7 separate regions of the Homo sapiens genome follow, and all the other regions are linked to region 6. The links are contacts of gene promoters, found by promoter capture Hi-C in blood cells and fetal thymus (Javierre and others, 2016). All regions are on one chromosome and are shown on one strand. The core of a region is centred on a gene start or on the middle of the fragment in contact, and the rest is flanking DNA. Distances in the headings are between cores, read along the strand shown.

Evidence for each region. Contacts are between HindIII fragments. The CHiCAGO score rates a contact against its expected background, and 5 or more counts as called.
Region 1: a contact is called between a fragment that was not itself captured here and the fragment with the promoter of PPP2R1B in region 6, in 1 of 17 cell types (fetal thymus). The highest score is 6.0, in fetal thymus.
Region 2: a fragment that was not itself captured here is called in contact with the fragment with the promoter of PPP2R1B in region 6 in 7 of 17 cell types (total CD8 T cells, total CD4 T cells, naive CD4 T cells and 4 more); the score reaches 7.6 in total CD8 T cells.
Region 3: a contact is called between a fragment that was not itself captured here and the fragment with the promoter of PPP2R1B in region 6, in 1 of 17 cell types (fetal thymus). The highest score is 5.9, in fetal thymus.
Region 4: a contact is called between a fragment that was not itself captured here and the fragment with the promoter of PPP2R1B in region 6, in 5 of 17 cell types (fetal thymus, naive CD8 T cells, activated CD4 T cells and 2 more). The highest score is 8.5, in fetal thymus.
Region 5: a fragment that was not itself captured here is called in contact with the fragment with the promoter of PPP2R1B in region 6 in 1 of 17 cell types (neutrophils); the score reaches 6.4 in neutrophils.
Region 7: a contact is called between a fragment that was not itself captured here and the fragment with the promoter of PPP2R1B in region 6, in 1 of 17 cell types (activated CD4 T cells). The highest score is 5.4, in activated CD4 T cells.

Annotation. Positions count from the first base shown.
Region 1 is chr11:111,504,344-111,507,043 of GRCh38, reverse strand. All of the region lies in intron 1 of BTG4 (BTG anti-proliferation factor 4), which reads left to right. Among named protein-coding and RNA genes, the nearest start is that of MIR34BHG, 4.9 kb to the left of the region's middle. The HindIII fragment of the contact is 2,624 bases long and covers 1-2,584 here.
Region 2 is chr11:112,022,477-112,025,176 of GRCh38, reverse strand. DIXDC1 (DIX domain containing 1) reads right to left here. Exons shown (of 20, transcript NM_001037954.4): 20 at 2,524-2,700. Among named protein-coding and RNA genes, the nearest start is that of DLAT, 1.6 kb to the left of the region's middle. RefSeq lists an enhancer at 618-807. The HindIII fragment of the contact is 1,386 bases long and covers 558-1,943 here.
Region 3 is chr11:111,423,723-111,426,422 of GRCh38, reverse strand. It overlaps a transcript of BTG4 not described here. Among named protein-coding and RNA genes, the nearest start is that of POU2AF1, 46 kb to the right of the region's middle. The HindIII fragment of the contact is 8,409 bases long and covers 1-2,700 here.
Region 4 is chr11:111,441,979-111,444,678 of GRCh38, reverse strand. It overlaps a transcript of BTG4 not described here. Among named protein-coding and RNA genes, the nearest start is that of POU2AF1, 64 kb to the right of the region's middle. The HindIII fragment of the contact is 5,404 bases long and covers 1-2,700 here.
Region 5 is chr11:112,160,149-112,162,848 of GRCh38, reverse strand. The region is part of intron 1 of IL18 (interleukin 18); the gene reads left to right. Among named protein-coding and RNA genes, the nearest start is that of IL18, 2.6 kb to the left of the region's middle. The HindIII fragment of the contact is 3,599 bases long and covers 1-2,700 here.
Region 6 is chr11:111,764,966-111,767,665 of GRCh38, reverse strand. PPP2R1B (protein phosphatase 2 scaffold subunit Abeta) reads left to right here and starts at 1,277. Exons shown (of 15, transcript NM_002716.5): 1 at 1,277-1,418; 2 at 2,282-2,372. The coding sequence starts at 1,305. RefSeq lists enhancers at 1,212-1,261, 1,282-1,461, 1,348-2,251. The HindIII fragment of the contact is 3,920 bases long and covers 571-2,700 here.
Region 7 is chr11:111,373,750-111,376,449 of GRCh38, reverse strand. The region is part of intron 1 of POU2AF1 (POU class 2 homeobox associating factor 1); the gene reads left to right. Among named protein-coding and RNA genes, the nearest start is that of POU2AF1, 4.2 kb to the left of the region's middle. The HindIII fragment of the contact is 6,311 bases long and covers 1-2,700 here.

The DNA.
Region 1 (2,700 bases), core at 23-2,522, 260 kb after region 6:
TTTACATAATCCTCATTTGTTATCTTTATTTCCTCTATATTCATAGAATATATCTCAAGGATTTCATCATGCTTACATTTAGTAAAGTTCACATTGTCCTTTCTGCTCTTAGCTCCTCTATAGTTTCTTGAAATCTCAAGCTCAAATTCTACTTCCTGGGTAAAATCTTCCCTAGTACCTTTAGTTCTTCCTGATCCTTTCTCTTCTCTAATCACTTTGACACTTAATATAGTCACTCTAAAATTAGTATGTTCCATTAATAAGAGAGTATTATTCTATATTCTAATTGTATTTTGAATTCAGCATTTTATTATAATGGTATAGAGTGCTGATACATATACACATATTTATATTAGTATAGAGTGTTGCACATAGGAACATTTTCTTACACTCTGAATTAATTTTAGTGAGTTATCTTGGTTTCTTTTTTTAAGGGGTACATATTCTTGTTTGTTACATGGGTATTACATGCATAATGTTGCGTGTTGGGCTTCTGCTGTACTTATCACCCCAGTATTAGGCATTGTATCCAGTAGGTAATTTTTCAACCCTCCCCACCCACCTTTGGAGTCCCCAGAGTCTATTTTCTCTATTTTCATTTCCACATGTACCATTTCTTTAGCTCCCACTTACAAGTGAGAATACGTAATATTTTATTTTCTGCTTCTGGGTTAGTTGACTTTGGGTAATGGCCTCCAGCTCCATCCATGTTGCTGCAAAGGACATGATTTCATTCTTCTTTTATGATTGTGTAGTATTCCATTGTGTATATATACACCATATTTTCTTTATCCAGTCAACAGTTGGCAGACATGTAGGTGGATTCCATGACTTTGCTCTAATTGTAAATGGTGCTGCAATAAACACACAAGTACAAGTATCTTTTTGATATAATGATTTCTTTTCCTTTGGGTAGATACCCAGTAGTGGGATTGCTGGGTCGAATGATAGTTCTATTTTTAGTTATTTGAGATATCGCTATACCGTTTTCCATAGAGGTTGAATTAATTTACATTCCCACCAACAGTGTGTGAGTATTCCCTTTTCTCTGCATACACACCAATATCTGTTGTTTTTTGACTTTTTAATAAAAGCCATTCTGACTGGAGTGAGATGGTATCTCAATGTGGTTTTAATTTGCATTTCTCTGATGATTAGTGATGTTGAGCATTTTTTCATATGTTTGTTAGCTGTTTGTATTTCTTCTTCTGAGAAATGTCTGTTCATGTTCTTTGCCCCATTTTCAATTGGTTTGTTTTATGTTTGTTGAGTTGTTTGAATTTCTTGTAGATTCTGAATACTAATTCTTTGTTGGAGGTATAATTTGTAAATATTTTCTCCCATTCTGTGAGTTGTCTTTTTATCCTATTGATTATTTGTTTTGCTGTGCAGAAACTTTTAGTTTATGTCCTATTTCTCTATCTTCGTTTTTTATTGCGTTTGTGTTTGGAATCTTCATCATAAATTATTTGCCTAAGCCGATGTCCATAAGGAGTTTTCCTAGGTTTTCTTTTAGGATTTTTATAGTTTCAGTTTTGATAGTTTTACATTTAGGTCTTTAATCCATCTATAGTTAATTTTGTATATGTTAAGAGATGGGGAATTAGTTTCAGTCTTCTGCATATGGCTAGCCAGTTTTTCCAGCATCATTTATTGAATAGGGTGTCTATTTCCCATTGTTTATTTCTGTTGACTTTAATCGAAGATCAATTGGTTGTATATATGTAGCTTTATTTCTAGGTTAGAGAACCCCATACTGTACCATTAATCTCTGGGTTTATTTTTGTACTAGTACCATGCGATTTTAGTTACTATAGCCTTGTAGTATAATTTGAAGTCAGGCAATATAATGCCTCTGACTCTGTTCTTTTTGCTTGGGAGTTCCTTGGCTATTTGGGCTTTTTTTGGTTCCCTATGAACTTTAGGACTGTTTTTCCTAATTCTGTGAAAAACAAGGCTGGTAATTGGATAGGGATTGCATTGAATCTGTAGATTGCTTGGGTAATATGGTTATTTTAACCATATTAATTCTTCCAATTCATAGCATGGAATGTTTTTCCATTTATTTGTGTCATCTACAATTTCTTTCATCAGTGTTTTGTAGTTCTCCTTGTAGAGATCTTTCACCTCCTTGGTTAAATGTGTTCTGAAGTATTTTGGTCTTTTTCGTGGCTATCCTAAGTGGGATTGGATTCTTAATTTGGTTCTCAGCTTCAATGTTACTGTTTATAGAAATGCTACTGATTTTTGTACATTGATTTTGTATCCTGAGACTTTACTGAAGTTGTTAATCAGGCCAAGGAGTCTTCTAGAGGAGTCTTTAGGGTTTTCTAGGTATACAATCATATTGTCAGTGAACAGAGATAATTTGACTTCTACTTTTCCAATTCAGATGCCTTTTATTTTTTTCTCTTGCCTGATAGCTCTGGCCAGGACTTCCAGTACTATGTTGAATAGGAGTTATCTTGGTTTCTAACTTGAAACGTTATATAAATGTATGTATTTTTTGTGGTCTTTCAAACAATGCCACTTACATTGTGAATGCTCAGTAATGCAGATAGAAAATACAAATTAGGAAGAAGCTTGTGGCGGATAAAACACTTGCTTAGTATTATTGGTAAAGGAATTTTATTTTGATTAGGCTGCACTAAAATTAATTTCTTTTGAGTTCAAATCAACATTGTATGGCTGTAGAATTTT
Region 2 (2,700 bases), core at 1-2,500, 260 kb before region 6:
CATCCGAAAGGGTGAGACGGGGCCTAAGAGATGACAAGGGCACGACCGAGGGGGAGGGGCCTAAAAAGGCGCAGAGACGCGGGTTAATTGCGGCCGAGTGGCCTGAGAGTCTGGGCCGAGGGGCGTGGCCAAGCTTTCTGGAAAAGCTGGAAGTGAGCCCGGGAACTGGCTAGGGCAGTGGGAGCCTCAGGCCAAAGGGCGGGGGTCTTGGAGTGCTGGGGTGGTGAAGGAGCCAGGAATCGCCCGCGAGGGAATCGAGGGGTCCGGCGTGGTGACCTCTGCTTCTGCGCATCCGAAGGGGGATGGACTGGGCCGCGCCCCGCGCAGGCTGTACTGGTTGCAAAGATTTCGTTTCAGGTTTGTAGCCCAAGTGGAAAGTGGAGTGAACAGGTGTTCCACCCAGCCAAGTGGTAACGAAAGGCAGCCCAGAGGAAGATACATTCCCGCATTCATGTATACTGTAGCAAGATTAAGCATATTCCCTGTATGAAGATATAGGTTTACAAAACAGGTGTTGCTCCCTAATACCATAGAATTCTTTTAAGTAACCAAAAGCTTCGTTATGTTTCAAATGTTTGAAAAACTTAACTGTAAGCCGTTGAAGGCATGAAGAGTGTCTGCGTGGTCCTTCCATGTAGCCCCAGAGCTTAATATCCAGTAAATAGCGGGGGCTGAATGTATGTCTTTTGAATCAATGAATAAAAAGTCATCTACACATTTTGTTAGGCACGCTTCTCTTGTAAAGTTGTCTTTTAATTAGAAAACATATCGTTTCTGAACTGAAGGTGACATTAGATAAGGAGGAAGCATGTGCTGTGTATCACCACCTCCCCCCTGTAGAGATGGTTAGAGAACACCAAGAACGCAAGAGGAAGTTGGAGGGAAGAAACTTAAAACAAGATTTTAGCCAGGAGCGGTGGTGCATGCCTGTAGTCCCAGCAATGCTTGAGAGGCTGAGGTGGGGGAATCACTTGAGCCCAAGAGTTTGAGACCAGCCTGGGCAACATAATGAGACTCCCATCTGTTAAAAAAAAAAAAAAATGGGGGCTAATCTTGCTAACAATTAATTTGGAAAACTAAAACAGATTGGATGTACTATTTCATGCCTACTTAAATTGGAATGTTTAAGCAGGTACAGCTGTCTATCAGAATAATATGTAAGCAATATAATTGAGAAATATAAAATTTCTAGATTGAATGAAAAGGCATATTTTAAATAATATGAAGAGAGCAATTATATTGTTACAATTATGTACAACTTATGAATTAACAATTGGAAGAAGCAATGAAAGAATAATTGTAATTACTGAAAGGACTTATTACTATTATTTGGGGATGGAGTCTCACTCTGTCGCCCAGGCTGGAGTGCAGTGGCATGATCCCGGCTCACTGCAACCTCCACCTCCCAGGTTCAAGCGATTCTCCTGCCTCAGCCTCCCGAGTGCTGGGATTACAGGCACGTGCCACCATGCCCAGCTAATTTTGTGTTTTTAGTAGATACGGGGTTTCACCATGTTAGTCATGCTGGTCTCAAACTCCTGACTTCAGGTGATCCACCTGCCTCGGCCTCCCAAAGTGCTGAGATTACAGGCGCGAGCCACCATGCCCGCCCAGGACTTATAAATTATTATAAAAATGTTTTTGAGTTGGCTAAAATATCTTGCTGCTTTTGCTGCATTTGAACTTAATAACTGGATCTAAATTAGACTTTGGTATAAAGTATGAGGTGATCTTCCGGATCTGTTGTGCACTTAGGTATGCTTGCTTAAACCCTGTTTTGCATTTTTCAAAGAATAGCGAGTTTGTGTCTTGAATATACTTTTGACTTAAGTGTAGTTAAATTATAGGAATGCATAGCTCAAACAGTCCAGAGATGGCGAGCTTACCCCAGAGGTGGGCTAGGAATGCTTAGGTTTCTCAAATCAGTCCTGAGAGAACAAGCTTGAATTCCACTAAACAGACTGGATAAAGGAAATTATGGAAAAGGAGACTCAAGACTCAAAGGTTTGAAATAGAGATACTTAAGAGAATGGTGATATCACTGATATTGAGAGAAACAGAAATTAGTTGGTAGTGAAAGATTTTGAGTTATGTACATATTTAATTTTAACATAATGGGATAGCCAATTAATAGTTGAAAATACGTAATTGGAAGTCAAATGAAGGCACTCAGGGATAAAGAATTTAATATAGCAAACATTTAAGATGAATTGATAAGAGGCATTTAAGAGGCAGCTTTCAAATGATCTGGGAATTCTGGTCATTTTAAATACACATTTCTGAAAGAGTTCTTAATGCTTGCATACTGACTTTTGTCATAGAGTTTATACTCTTGGGTTCTTATTTGTTTGCATGTTTACATATAATTTCAAAATAAGTGCTAAATAAATTGTCCTTGATAATAGCCTATGTGCTTACATAGAAATACTAATTGTAAAATATCTGTAGCAATAAAGTAATTCTTATCTCCACTCCACATAGTGAGTAAACATGCTACCAGGGAGATCACTTGAGGAAATTTGCTTTCACTAAATGTAAATGGCTTTATTGATTAATCTCATCAGTAAACGCAAGTGAAAATCATTAATGATATTTAGTTTGCAAACCCCATTTTATTCATAGTTTGTGGTTTTTTAAATTAGTTCACAAATCTGGTACATACCGGCAGTTAAAACTGGTTATCACTTTGATAATCAGAAG
Region 3 (2,700 bases), core at 144-2,643, 340 kb after region 6:
CTTTTCTTTTGCCAAAGAAAGTGTCTTTCCAAAGAGCTTTGGAGACACGGAGAGAGAACCATGGGTGCTAGAGTCTTCTGCCAGGAGGATCTATACAATGTGTAGATACAACCACTCTCAATCCAGTCCTCCTTTCCATTTTTTTTTCATTTCCCTTCCCTTCCTCTGTCACTGCTTTCATGGTTTCTTGGCAATTCTCACCTCTCTCTGGCTGGACCACCCACTTTCTCATTGTGGGAAGACACTGAGCATACCCCACATGAACTCATCACCCTCCTCCTTGTCCCGCTGTGCTCCTCTTGACACCCTGGTTTTTGGATAATGATGCCAACATTCTGTAAATCACCTAGGCACTAGAGCCCAGGTCAGTTTCTCCTTTTTTTTCTTTCTTTGAGACGAGGTCTGGCTCTGTCATCCAGGCTGCAGTGCAGTGGCGCAATCTCGGCTCACTGAATCCTCAACTTCCAGGGCTCACGTGATCCTCCCACCTCAGCCTCCCGAGTAGCTGGGACTGCAGGTGTGTGCCACCATGCCCAGCTATTTTTAAATTTTTTGTAGAGATGGGGTGTCACTATGTTACCCAGGCTAGTCTCAAACTGTTGAGCTCAAGCGATCTTCCCACCTTGGCCTCCCAAAGAGCTGCGATTATAGGCGTCAGCCACTGTGCCCGCCCTCAGATCCATTTCGATGCTTTTCTTGCCCTTGCTAGTTCCCAGATTGAGTGTAGTCTGCTTGGTTAGTATCTCTTGCATTCATACCCTATTTTTCTTCCTACCTACTGCTCTGATTTTGGTAATTATCTCTCATCTGGGTTACTACAGTAGTTTCTTAACTGAAATTTCAATATTTCCCGTCTTTCTTCTTAAGTTTTTCTTCTACTATCGGGCCAGATAAATCTTCTAAAAGGCGCTGATCATAACCTTGCAGCATTAAAAACTGTCATTAACTCTCCATTGCTAACCCCCAAGTCCCCAGGCTCCTTAAATGGTCAGCACTGGGGGCTCTCCAGTCTTCTTTTTCGACTGTATCCTTGGAGGGACTATGAGCTCCATGAGGCCAGGGCTCCTGTGTCTTTTGTGTATGTGTTTATCTCCATGATCAGCATGGAGCCTGCCTATGGTACAGAGTGCCTGGCATGCAGCAGGGCCTCAACAACACCTGTGAACCCCCTACCCAGAAATGCTGCCACTGTCTTCCAGGAATCCTTACTGCTTCTAAAAAATACCCTTCATTTTTCCTACCTCCTCCTTTGCACACGTTCTGCCTGGAATGCATGCCCCATGATAAAAGTTTGTTCCACACCTACCCATTTTCCCAGGTCCAGCCCAAATGGCGCCTTCCTTCATGTAGCCCTCTATGATTGTACAGAAGGACCTGCTCATCCGCTTTCTAAACTGCCATGGCAGTTTGTCCCCTCTCATGGCCCTTGACATCACATCTCTTCTCTAGTAAGGTTTGAGCTACTTGGGGACCGGGCTTGTTTTTATTAATCTTTTAAAGTACCTAATACAGCCTGGCTCACTGCAATCTCTATCTCCCAGGTTGCAGTGATTCTCCTGCATCAGCCTCTTGAGTAAGCTGGGATTACAGGCACCTGCCACCACGCCTGGCTAATTTTTGTATTTTCAGTAGAGACGGGGTTTCACCATATTGGTCAGGCTGGTCTCGAACTCTTGACCTCAGGTGATCTACCCACCTCGGGCTCTCAAAGTGTTGGGATTACAGGCGTCAGCCACTACATCTGGCCTAATTTTATTGAATTAATAAACAAATGCTTAAGTGACCGTAAATCTTTTATCTGCAGGCTTGGTTTATTAATAACCACATAACCTTACCACTTAATGATGATGAATGACTTTGAGGCCAGTTAGCATTCAGTTTATTGGCCTCAAATAAATGAATTATTTGGGTGGATTAACCAACTGTAATAAATGTGAACAAATTAGCACTGTCATCTTACAGCAAAAATTATATTGAGGTGAATTCCATGCCAAGTTGTGGGGCAGGACGCCCAGCATTTTCGCGTTAACTCATCATCTCCTTTCTCACCCCATGGTGTTCCTCTTGACTCCTTTGTTTTTAGATAGTGACACCAACATTTTGTAAGTCATCCAGCTCTAGAGCCCAGGCTAGTTTCCTTGCTTTCCTTGCCCTTGCTGCTTCCCAAATTGAGCATCATCTATCCGTGTCACTCTCAGTATCCTGGGGCACTGGATTGTATCGACTTGGGCTGTGGATGGGAGATGCCCTAAAGATGAACCTGTGAGGGCCTTTAGTGTTTCTCTAGCTAAGAGCTCTCTGAAGAACATGTTTCTTGCGATGGGCAGGATGGGAGAGGCTGGTCAAGCCTCTGAGCCTGTGCTCATTTCCCTTCACCTATTTTGCTCCTCCATGAGGCTTCTGTCACCACTGGTGGTGGTGGTTCTAAGGCTGTGGTGACCTGGGGAGGGTCTCTGTGGTGACTTAGCACCTGGGGAGGGAGAGGTCTGGCTTTCTCGGCCTCCTCTTCTGGCAGGGCCCTGAAAGGAGCTCAGGCCTCGGAGATTTCCTGGTTCCAATGTCCTTTCGTCTTAACAGTCCTCAGCTCACAGCTCCTCCAGAAAGTGGTCTTTATGTGTAAGGAGCTGAGTTTTCATCCTGGCATGTCTCTCATCTTTCTATGCCTTAATTTCCTCATCTGATGGTGATATCTATTTTTTG
Region 4 (2,700 bases), core at 28-2,527, 320 kb after region 6:
ATTTATGGGGTATTATGTATTAAAACATCTCATGTGTCAAAAAACATATCCTTTGAGTTACCAACAATTCAATAACAATCTTTAAGTTAGTTTAAAATGTGCAATGAAGTTATTATCGACTATAGTCACCCTGTTGTGCTATCAAATAGTAGGTCTTATTCATTCTTTCTATTTGTTTTGGTACCCATTAACCATCCCCACCTTCCCTCCCAGCCCCCCACTACTCTTCCCAGCATCGGGTAACCATCCTTCTACTCTCTATGTCCATGAATTCAATTGTTTTGATCTTTAGATTCCACAAATAAGTGAGACATTGCCTCTTAGGACTCTCCTGTTTCTTTTCCTTTCTCTCCTATGTCTTCTCTCCCCTCCCCTCCCCTGCCTTCCCCTCCCCTTCTCTCCTCTTCCCTCCCTCTCCTCTCCTCTCTCTCTGTCTCTCAGTCACACATACATACACACACTGTCTCTACACACACACACACACACACACACACACCCCTCAGGGTAGTGGTTTGAATTAATTACACTCAGTTCATGGAACATTGTCATTGCTGGTGTGGTTTGGGCAGGAAACTTCTCCTATTTTGTTCATTTATTTTTCTCCATTTATTCTTATTTCCATCTCCCCATAAAAAATAATTCTGTTAAACCAAATGTGTGTCTGTGAGTTCCTGCAAAGCAGGCATCGTTTAGGCACATGTCCGTTTTAAATGCTTGCAGAGGTGGTTGTGCTGTCTCACCCTGGTTTCTTACTCCCCACTCTGCACTGTTTTAAATACTCACCTGTGTTGCTAAGCGTCCTCGAGCTGGAGGCTTCTAAGTGAGGCTTCCTGCTTCATCTATGCCCATACCTAAAGACCACGCTTTCTGATTGCTGCCCTACACTTGTTGCACCCAGGTCCTCGTCCTGTTGCCCCCAGCTGTCTGACTTTCACTGTATCCCCAAACTGCCTTCTCTCAGGACCCTGGCAGTGCCCCCGGGATGTCACTTTCAGTTCTGATTTTACCTGACTTTCCACTGGTCTGACAGGTGGGGGACGACTTAATTTCCATGATCCCAAAGTCCCTTTTGTCTCTCTTTTTTTTCCCTCTGTTTTTAAGTTATGTAAGTTTTTCCTAGAATGTGCTGATATTTTTTTGAAAAACTTTATTTTTTAAGAACAGTTTTAGATTTACAGAAAAATTTCAAAAGATAGTACAGTGTTCTCATATACCTCACACCCAGCTTCTTCTCTTATTAACTGCTTACATTAATATGGTACATTTGTTATAATTAATGAACCAATACATTATTATTAACTGAAACCCATACTTTGTTCTGATTTCCTTAGTTTTACCTATTGTCTTTTTCTGTTCCAGGACCACATATGACATCCAGTCATCATGTCTGCTTTGCCTACTCTCAGTTGAGAGAATTTCTCAAATTTTCCTTGTTTTTGATGACCTTGACAGTTTTGAGGAATGTTGGTCAGATATTTTGTAGAATGTTCCTCAGTTAGGATTTATCTGATGTTTTTCTAACGCTTGGACTGGAGGTGTGGGTTTTTGAGAGGAAGACCACAGAGGCAAGGTGCCATTTTCATCACGTTGTATGAAGGGTACATGCAATCAACATGATGTATCACTGTTGGTGTTGACCTTGATCACCTGGCTGAGGTAGCGTTGGCCAGGTTTCCTCCACTGTAGAGGTTACTCTTTTTCCCTTTCCACACTATGCTCATTGGAAGAAAATCACTATGTACAGCCCACACTTAAGGAGTGGGCAGTTGCCTTATCCCTCCCCGAGGGTGGAATTAAGTTATTTGAAATTAACGTAAGTTAATCGAATGCAAGTTATTTGAGATTCTTCTGCATGTGAGATTTGTTGCTTCTTCATTTTTATTTATTCACGTGAACATTTATTTATATCAATATGGACTTATAGGTATTCATTTCATACTTTAGATTTAGATAGAGAGTTTTTTTTTTTCCCTGTCTTTCAAAATGATCCAGTGCTGGTTGTTGTGAGCTCTGCCAGTGGGCTACGGGGTCCTTTGGACATACCTCATGATTGTGGGTTGTTGTTGTTGTTGTTGTTGTTTTTCGAGTACTTCCTTATATTTTTGGCACTATAAGATGCCCCAGGCTCATCTGGTGTGTGTGTGTGTGTGTGTGTGTGTGTGTGTGTATACATTTTTTTTGAAACAATCTTACTCTGTCATGCAGGCTGGAGTGCAGTGACTCGATCTTGGCTCACTGCAACCTCCACCTCCCTGGCTCAAGTGATTCTCTTGCCTCGACCTCCTGAGTAGCTGGGACTACAGCTGTGCACCACCATGCCTGGCTAATTTTTTGTATTTTTATAGAAATGGGGTTTCACCATGTTGGCCAGGCTGGTCTCAAACTCCTGACCTCAAGTGATCCACCTGCCTCGACCTCCCAAATTGCTGGGATTACAGACGTGAGCCACCGCACCTGATCTCATCTCGTATATTTCCTGTCCCCGTCCTAGAATTGGCCATATCCCCAAGGAGTTCTGGTTCCTTTTTATTGGAGAATGTTATTAGAAACCAAAGTCTGGGTGTTAGCTATGCTCTGGTCTCTTATGTTCAACTCACTTTTCTTTCTTTTTTTGTTTTTTGAGATGGAGTCTTGCTCTGTCACCCAGGCTGGAGTACACTGGTGCGATCTCGGCTCACTGCAACCTCCTCCTCCCGGGTT
Region 5 (2,700 bases), core at 65-2,564, 400 kb before region 6:
AGAGCGAGACTTTCTCAAAAAAACAAACAAAAAAACAAACAAACTTCCTTCAAAATAACTTTTTATCTGCAATGTTTTCCTATTGCCTGTGAGATTAAATTTACTCTTTTACCTGATTTCCAAAGCCCTCCATAATCTAATCCGACTTTACCTTGTGTTCACTGCAAAATAGCAGGACTGTTCCACTACAATCCAAAAATCACAGGTTGGGTGCAGTGGCTCACTCCTGTAATCCCAACACTTTGGAAGGCCAAGGCAGGTGGATTGCTTCAGCTCAGGAGTTCAAGACCAGCCTGGGCAACATGGCAAAAACCCTGTCTCTCCAAAACATACAAAAATTAGCCAGATGTGGTAGTATGTGCCTGTAGTCCCAACTACTCAAAAGGCTAAGGCAAGAGGATCACTTGAGCCCAGGAGGTCAAGGCTACAGTGAGCCATGTTTGCTGTGTCACTGCACTCCAGCCTGGGTGATAGAGCAAGACCATGTCTCAAAAAAAAAAAAAAAAAGAAAAGAAAAGAAAAAAACATCGCTCTATTCAGTTCACCCCCACCACAACATTGTTTTGATTATCACATAAATGCTGGTCCATTGCCTTCTCTATCTATTCAAATCTTTAAGCATTCTTTGAGATTCAACTCAATTCTCCTTTTCAAACTAGGCCATTTAAACTACATCAGTTCCATTTTGATTTTTTTGCTTTGAGTCTACAGACTCAAAAACAAAAACTTAAAAACTTATTTTTTAAGTTTTCTGCTACTCTCACCTCTTCAACACTCACATACACGCATTCATAATAAGATGGCAGAATGTTCAAGGATAAAATGATTTATAGAACTGAAAAGTTAGGTTTTGATCTTGTTGCTGTCAAGATGACTACCTACCTGATCTCAGGTAATTAATTATGTAGCATGCTCCCTCATTTCATCCCATACCTATTCAACAGGATTGGAATTCCACAGCAAGGATAAACATAATCATAGTTGCTTTTCAAGTTCAAGGCATTTTAACTTTTAATCTAGTAGTATGTTTGTTGTTGTTGTTGTTGTTTGAGATGGAGCCCTGCTGTGTCACCCAGGCTGGAGTGCAGTGGCACGAACTCGGCTCACTGCAACCTCTGCCTCATGGGTTCAATCAGTTATTCTGCCTCAGTGTCCCAAGTAGCTGGGACTACAAGGCACATGCCACCATGCCTGGCTAATTTTTGTATTTTTAGTAGAAACAGGGTTTCACCATGTTGGCCAGGCTGGTCTCGAACTCCTGACCTCAAGTGATCCAGCCGCCTCGGCCTCCCAAAGTGCTGGTATTACAGGCATAAGCCACCGTGCCCAGCCTAATAGTATGTTTTTAAACTCTTAGTGGCTTAACAATGCTGGTTGTATAATAAATATGCCATAAATATTTACTGTCTTAGAATTATGAAGAAGTGGTTACTAGGCCGTTTGCCACATATCAATGGTTCTCTCCTTACAGCTTTAACTAGAGTCTAGAATTGCAGGTTGGTAGAGCTGGAACAGACCTTAAAGACTGACTAGCCAACTTCCTTGTCCAAATGAGGGAACTGAGACCCTTAAAATTAAGTGACTTGCCCCAGACAAAACTGGAACTCATGTGTCCTAATTTCCATCATGAAATTCTACCATTCACTAGCCTCTGGCTAGTTGTCAAAGTATTGCATAACTAAATTTTTATGTCTGTTTTAAAGAACAAATTGTCACTGCTTACTCCTGGGAGGATCTTTCTGAGGTGGTTTATAACTCTTAAAAAAAAAAAAAGTCAGTAGTCTGAGAATTTTAGATGAAATAGTCAAAGCATTTTTATCCAATGGATACTATAATTTTCATAGATTAGAGTTAAAGCAAAGAAACACGGATGAGAAAGGAAGAGGAAAATTGAGGAGAGGAGGAATGGGGATGAGAACACACTACTTGTAATCAGTCATAGATGTATTGAGAACTAACAAGAAGAATTGTAAGAAAATAAGAATGAAGAATTCAAAATCAACACATGAAATAAAAAAGAAACTACTAGGGAAAAATGGAGAAGACATTAGAAAAATTATTCTATTTTTAAAATTCTGTTTTCAGGCTTCCCTCCTGTTCTTCCTCCTTCTCATTGGCTTTCAGGTGGAGGGAAAGTTTAAGATAGAAAAAATATATATATTCTACACATCCCTTTCTACGCTGTTGTCATGGCAACAAGGTTTATCATAGCAAACTTTTATTCATACAACATTTATTGAGTTCTTACTGTGTGGTAAGCTCTTTCCAGGTGTTGAAAATTCAGGGGAAAAAAGACAACTCATTGTCTTAAAACTCAGATGAAAGCTGAACAGACCTATTTTTAATCAAAGTAATCTCAATTTAGGGTAGTAAGAGCTATTTAAGAAGCATGAACAGGTGTGAAGGAGGTAGGACTCTGAGGAGAGAATAATTAGCTAGGAATGAAAGAGCAGAGAAGTTTTCCTAGAGGAACTATTAAAGCTGGGAGTTACGGGATGAAAGATGAGGCAGGGTTTGCAGGCAAAAAAAAAAAAAAGGCAGGGGAAGGGGAAGTTCTGGCCTGGCAGAGAGAATAACTGTGGCAACAATGGAGGAGAGTCTGGAAGCAAGAAAACCAAGTAGAAGAGTATTAAAATAGAAGATGCCAGGGGTAATGAGGGCTTGATTTAAAACAGTGCTGTTGGAGATGGAGAGGAGATA
Region 6 (2,700 bases), core at 28-2,527:
GTCTCACTCTGCCGCCCAGATTGGAGTACAGTGGTGCGATCCTGGCTCACTGCAACCTCTGCCTCCCGGGCTCAAGCGATTCTCATGTCAGCCTCCCGAGTAGCTGGGACTACAGGCTCCCGTCACCAGCCCAGCTAATTTTTGTATTTTTTAGTGGAGACAGGGTTTCACCAAGTTGGCCAGGCTGGTCTCGAACTCCTGGCCTCAAGTGATCCGCCCGCCTCGGCCTCAGAATCCCATGTTTTAAAAAAGTTTGTCTCCTACACTGCATTTATAGTTTTATTAATCAGGCACATAGAATTACCATTTCGGAGCTTGTGATCACCATATGTAGTTATCACTCCAAGCTGCTTAAATTCCAGTCTAAAACAAACAAAACATTCTAATTATTCTGTGCTACCCTGACAGGGGTAAGTGAAAACTTTCCATTCAGGTTTGTAAGAACGAGCTCCCAGACCTCCACCTCTTCCCCTTGCTGCCTCTGAGGACTCTTGGAGGTCTAGGGAGGCCAGTTTGGGTTTTCTTGCTCAAGAAAGTAGCCACCCCACCCAATTTGGAAGGATTAAAGCTTGTCCTAGTTTTGCTTCATTGTTGTACTTCTAGCATGCTAAAGAGCTAAAAAATGGGAGGAAGAAAATACAACAGAAGGCACCATTCCAGTACCAAACTGAAAAGAAACACAAAAACAAGAGAGCAGCATGTTTTTAACAGCTTGCGTGGAAAAAATATTGACTGGGGAGTTTGGACAGCACTGTTCATTTTCTCTCACCGCCCGCGTTATTTGTCTTACGGAGCAGGAGCCAGATACCATTCTGGAGAAAGAGCCGCGGGAAGAGGTGGAGGGGTTCTGTGGAAGTTTGAGTCTGAGCGGAGAAATTAGGGCTGGAGATCCAGTGGCTCAGGGCCAGGAAGAAGTCAGGGGAGGTGCTAAAGCCTTTTTCCTCCTGGCCTCGGGCACTCTCTTTGGTCCGCCTGAGTCTTAAGAGGGCACAGCGCAGATCATTCAGGTAGGTTCCTGGCTCCTTCAGACTACAACGAGCTGGATGAATCCCTGTCCCTGTTTCTTTCGGCTGGGGAAAGGACGCAGGGGTTCCATTCGCTTTCTTAGCCCACCCGTCTTCTTGAGTTCAGACCTACAACTCCTGCAGTGGGGGTCAGAAGGGAGCCTTAATCATCGGGACAGAAACGCGGCTCCCCAACTTCGGCTAAACCAGCGTGGCGGCCTTCGTCCCTACTGCCTGGGCGCGGGGCGGGGCCTGGGCGCGGGGCGGGAGGCGGTGACCAGCAGCAGGAGGAGAAAGAACATGGCGGGCGCATCAGAGCTCGGGACCGGCCCAGGAGCAGCGGGTGGAGATGGAGATGATTCGCTATACCCGATCGCGGTTTTAATCGACGAGCTCCGCAATGAAGACGTGCAGGTACTGGACTGAGGCCGGGGACCCGAGGCGAGACCGGCTGGTCGCGTGGTAGAGAAGGGGGAAGGCCTGCGTCGCGGTGGGGGTGGCCGAGGTACTGAATGAGTCGGACTCGTAGCAGAAACTTGAAGGGGAGGCGGGGAATGCTCCGCGAGGGGCTGTGGTGACACGCCCCGACCCTCCCGGGTACCTCTCTAGTAACCTTGCTTCGGACCCCCTGAGGCGTCCGCCCGGAGCCTTGCCCTTCCCGGGCGGTTGTCGGGGAACCCGCTTCCCGCCTGGGCGCCCCATCCGGGCCGTGAGGTGGCCGCGTCTCTTGGGCGAGGGAGCAGGAGAAGCGCGGTGCCAGGCCGAGACGGGGCTGGAGCGGCTGAGGGGCGCAGGATGCCCAGAAGCCCTTTGAAGTGCCCCTGGATCCCTTCATCTCGGCTTGGAACTGGCTCGGCTTGTTGGGTAGAAAGCGGGGGTGGGATGGCCGATTAATCTGGACGAGTAGTGTATCCGCTCTGTGGGAACTTTTCTTTGAAACCACAGGTGTTGTATTCAACCGTTTCACCTGCTTCACCACTGCCAAAGTGCTCTCTTTTTAAAATTATCTTACTTCCTAGGTGTTGTATTGTCTTTCCTTCATTTCTCTTCCGGTCCCTTCTGAGTGTTTCTCCTGGGAAATCCTCCGCCGGCTAGTGAGGCCGAGTTACACTTCTTTTTGGAAGTCCTTATGAGCTTCCTTAACAGTAAAATCTAAATGAAAGGTTATCTTCATTCTTACCCCTGTGTCATAATTTCACCTGTTAGCACCTTTTGTCTTTTGATCTAAATTCAGCCGTTTCTTTACATTGTTCTTCTTTCTACTTTCTTTTCTGAAGCTCCGACTCAACAGTATTAAGAAGTTATCAACAATTGCCCTAGCACTTGGAGTAGAAAGGACCCGAAGTGAATTGTTGCCATTTCTTACAGGTATGTGAATCTTTGTTTAAAGAAAGGTAGGGACATTCCATTTTCCAGTAGCTTTCAACACTGACTTTTTTAGAGTTTATTACCCACATTAAAATGAGCCAGGTGTTTTTTGTGCAAAAGAAACAGAACAGAGTATATTGTTAGTTGTGGCTAGATATATTCAAACATCAACCATTTAGCTATTGAAAGTAATTGATACGGGAGTATGAATTTCTAATTCGTTGTGCAAAGCAGATACAGGAAGACGGTTGAGAAGAAAGAAAATGCTGTTAGGATTTTGACTGGGTCACCTTCCTGGTCGCATAGTGAATCTGTTCCTAGTTTTGTG
Region 7 (2,700 bases), core at 126-2,625, 390 kb after region 6:
TGAAGAAGTCACTCCATCTGTAGATTCTCTCCCTGGGTTCTGGACTTGGACCTGCTGGTCAGGTGCACATGTGAAGAATTACCATCCCTCCCCAGCTAGTAACAGTGTAGTGGAAATAGCAGGAACCTTGGAGGGAGACAGGTCTGAAAGTTGCCTGTGCAACTTAGTTCTTTCTTTGTGAGAAGGAAATTTCCATTCATTTCCTTATCTGGGAAGTGGGGATTCTAATGTCTGCCTCCCAAGGTTTTTGTGAGAATTAAAGTAGAGAATGTAGGTAAAATGATAGCAAGTTTCCTGATAAGTAGTGGTAGGGATGAGTTAGTACCTTCCGTCCTGGAAACCACCTGTGGGCCCATCTTGAATGATCAGTGTTATGTTAAATTCATATATTCTTTTCCACACTTTGATTAGAATAGTTAAAAAGCCACAGTCTAAATATTCTTGGGTGATAGGATATTGCAAAATTTTCCAAGGGTCTAAAATAGTGGTCTGCAAACTATGGCCTCTGTGCCAAATCAGGCCTGCCACTCCATTTGTAAATAAAGTTTTATTGGAACACAGCTCTGTCTATCATTTGAATATTGTCTAGGGCTGCTTTTGCAGAGTTGAGTAGTTGTGACAGAGACTGTGCAGCATACAAAGCCTAAAATATTTTCTCTCTGGCTTATAATAGAAAAACATTGCCAACCTCTGGTCTGAGATGATTTGCTTGGTTCTTCAGGCATTCATTTCCTTAAGATACTCAGTATCAGGCCGGGTGCGGTGGCGGGCGCCTGTAATCCCAGCACTTTGGGAGGCCAAGGCGGGCAGATCACGAGGTCAGGAGATCGAGACCATCCTGGCTAACATGGTGAAACCCCGTCTCTACTAAAAATACAAAAAAATTAGCTGGGGTTGTGGTGGCAGGCCCCTGTAGTCCCAGCTACTCGGGAGGCTGAGGCAGGAGAATGGCATGAACCCGGGAGGCGGAGCTTACAGTGAGCCGAGATCGTGCCACTGCACTCCAGCCTGGGGTACAGAGCGAGACTCCGCCTCAAAAAAAAAAAAAAAAAAAAAAAAGATACTCAGTATCCTGGGGTTGTACATTGCCAACACCAATGGGAAATAAAACTTGCAGCCAATTCATTAAATAATTTGTACAATGCCCCAAACTGATTTGATTGAATTTCTTCCTTAAAAGTGATAGAACTGTGTATAATAAACTGAACTCCATTTGTTAGAAAGTGAACAAATTGGACAGTTGCTTTTTATTGTTGTTGTTTGTATTAGGGAACAATCTACATGCTAATGAAAGGCAGGCTTGACTGATTTTCTTTGGACTGGCTGATTGTCTTGGTGTCCTGTGGACTTGGCCTTGGAACAGGAAATAATTCGTATCAGATTATTATGTCATGGATATGCCTTTGCTTTCAGACAACTTGAACAGAGCAGAGATTTAGCAAACAGAAAAATTAAGGACTTAAAATTCTCATCAACATAGAACTCTGCTCTTCAGATGTACTCTAGGGTTCCACTAAAGAGCCAATATTGTTTGGGAGGCAGTTAAAGATAAGTAAAATGTGTACTATGCATATAATTTTTGGAAGCCTATCTCCTACATAAATTTAAGCACAACTTACAATGAGAGGTAATTTAGGTTTCTGGACAACCTCTAATATTTCTATTCTATGTTACAACCTTTGCTTATTTAATAAGCCTAGTGAGCACCTTTACTTCTTACCAAGTTGATTCCATTGATTCAGCAGTTCTTTTTTTGAGATAGAGTCTTGCTCTGTCACCCAGGCTGCAATGTAGTGGTGCAAGATCAGCTCACTGCAACCTCTGCCTCCAAATTCAAGTGATTCTCCTGCCTCAGCCTCCTGTGTAGCTGAGATTATAGGCACATGCCACAATGCCCAGCTAATTTTGCATTTTCATTGGAGATGGAGTTTCACTATGTTGGCCAGGCTGGTCTCGAACTCCTGACCTCGAGTGATCCACCTGCCTTGGCCTCCCAAAGTGCTGGGATTACAGGTGTGAACCACCACGCCTGGCCAATTAAGCAGTTCTTGCTGTTAAGGGCAAGTAGAATCCAAAAGAGAGACACAAATTCACGTGCACTGTCTGGAGGTGAAATAAAGGACAAACATCAACCAAATACACAGATTTAATTGGTAAAAAAGCAGATGATGTTCTTGATGGATATTTTACTTCCTGCCCCTTATATTTATTTACTAAAGAAAATGCCAGATTTGTCCCCAAAGTTACTGACTCAGAAGTTTTGAAAGCTCTCTCCCAATTCACACTTGGGATTCTGTTCTTTCATGAGGAACCAAAAAAAAAAAAAAAAAAAATCAAGTTTGCCTACAGCTGTTCATTAAATATGTGGACATTTAATTCATAAAGAAGTCTTATAAATATTTGCTTTTAACTTTCCCATTACAAAGTGTTTTTTCCCCCTTTGACATCTTTCTAAAGTAGTTTATCTTCCCACTTAATGAAGATGTCCACCTATTTCTTATTCTGAGCCAACCAAACCAAAGTTGGCTAATTGATTATGAACATTAACATAATTCTCACCTTTATGAAATGCTTAATAACACTCTAGTTTTCTCATTTTTGTAGAACTGCTTGACAACTAAGTGAGCCTACCTGGGATGGGGAGGCCTTCTCTGAAACCCTCTTGTCCCGCTTGTGTGATACTGGGGACAAGCACTTGTA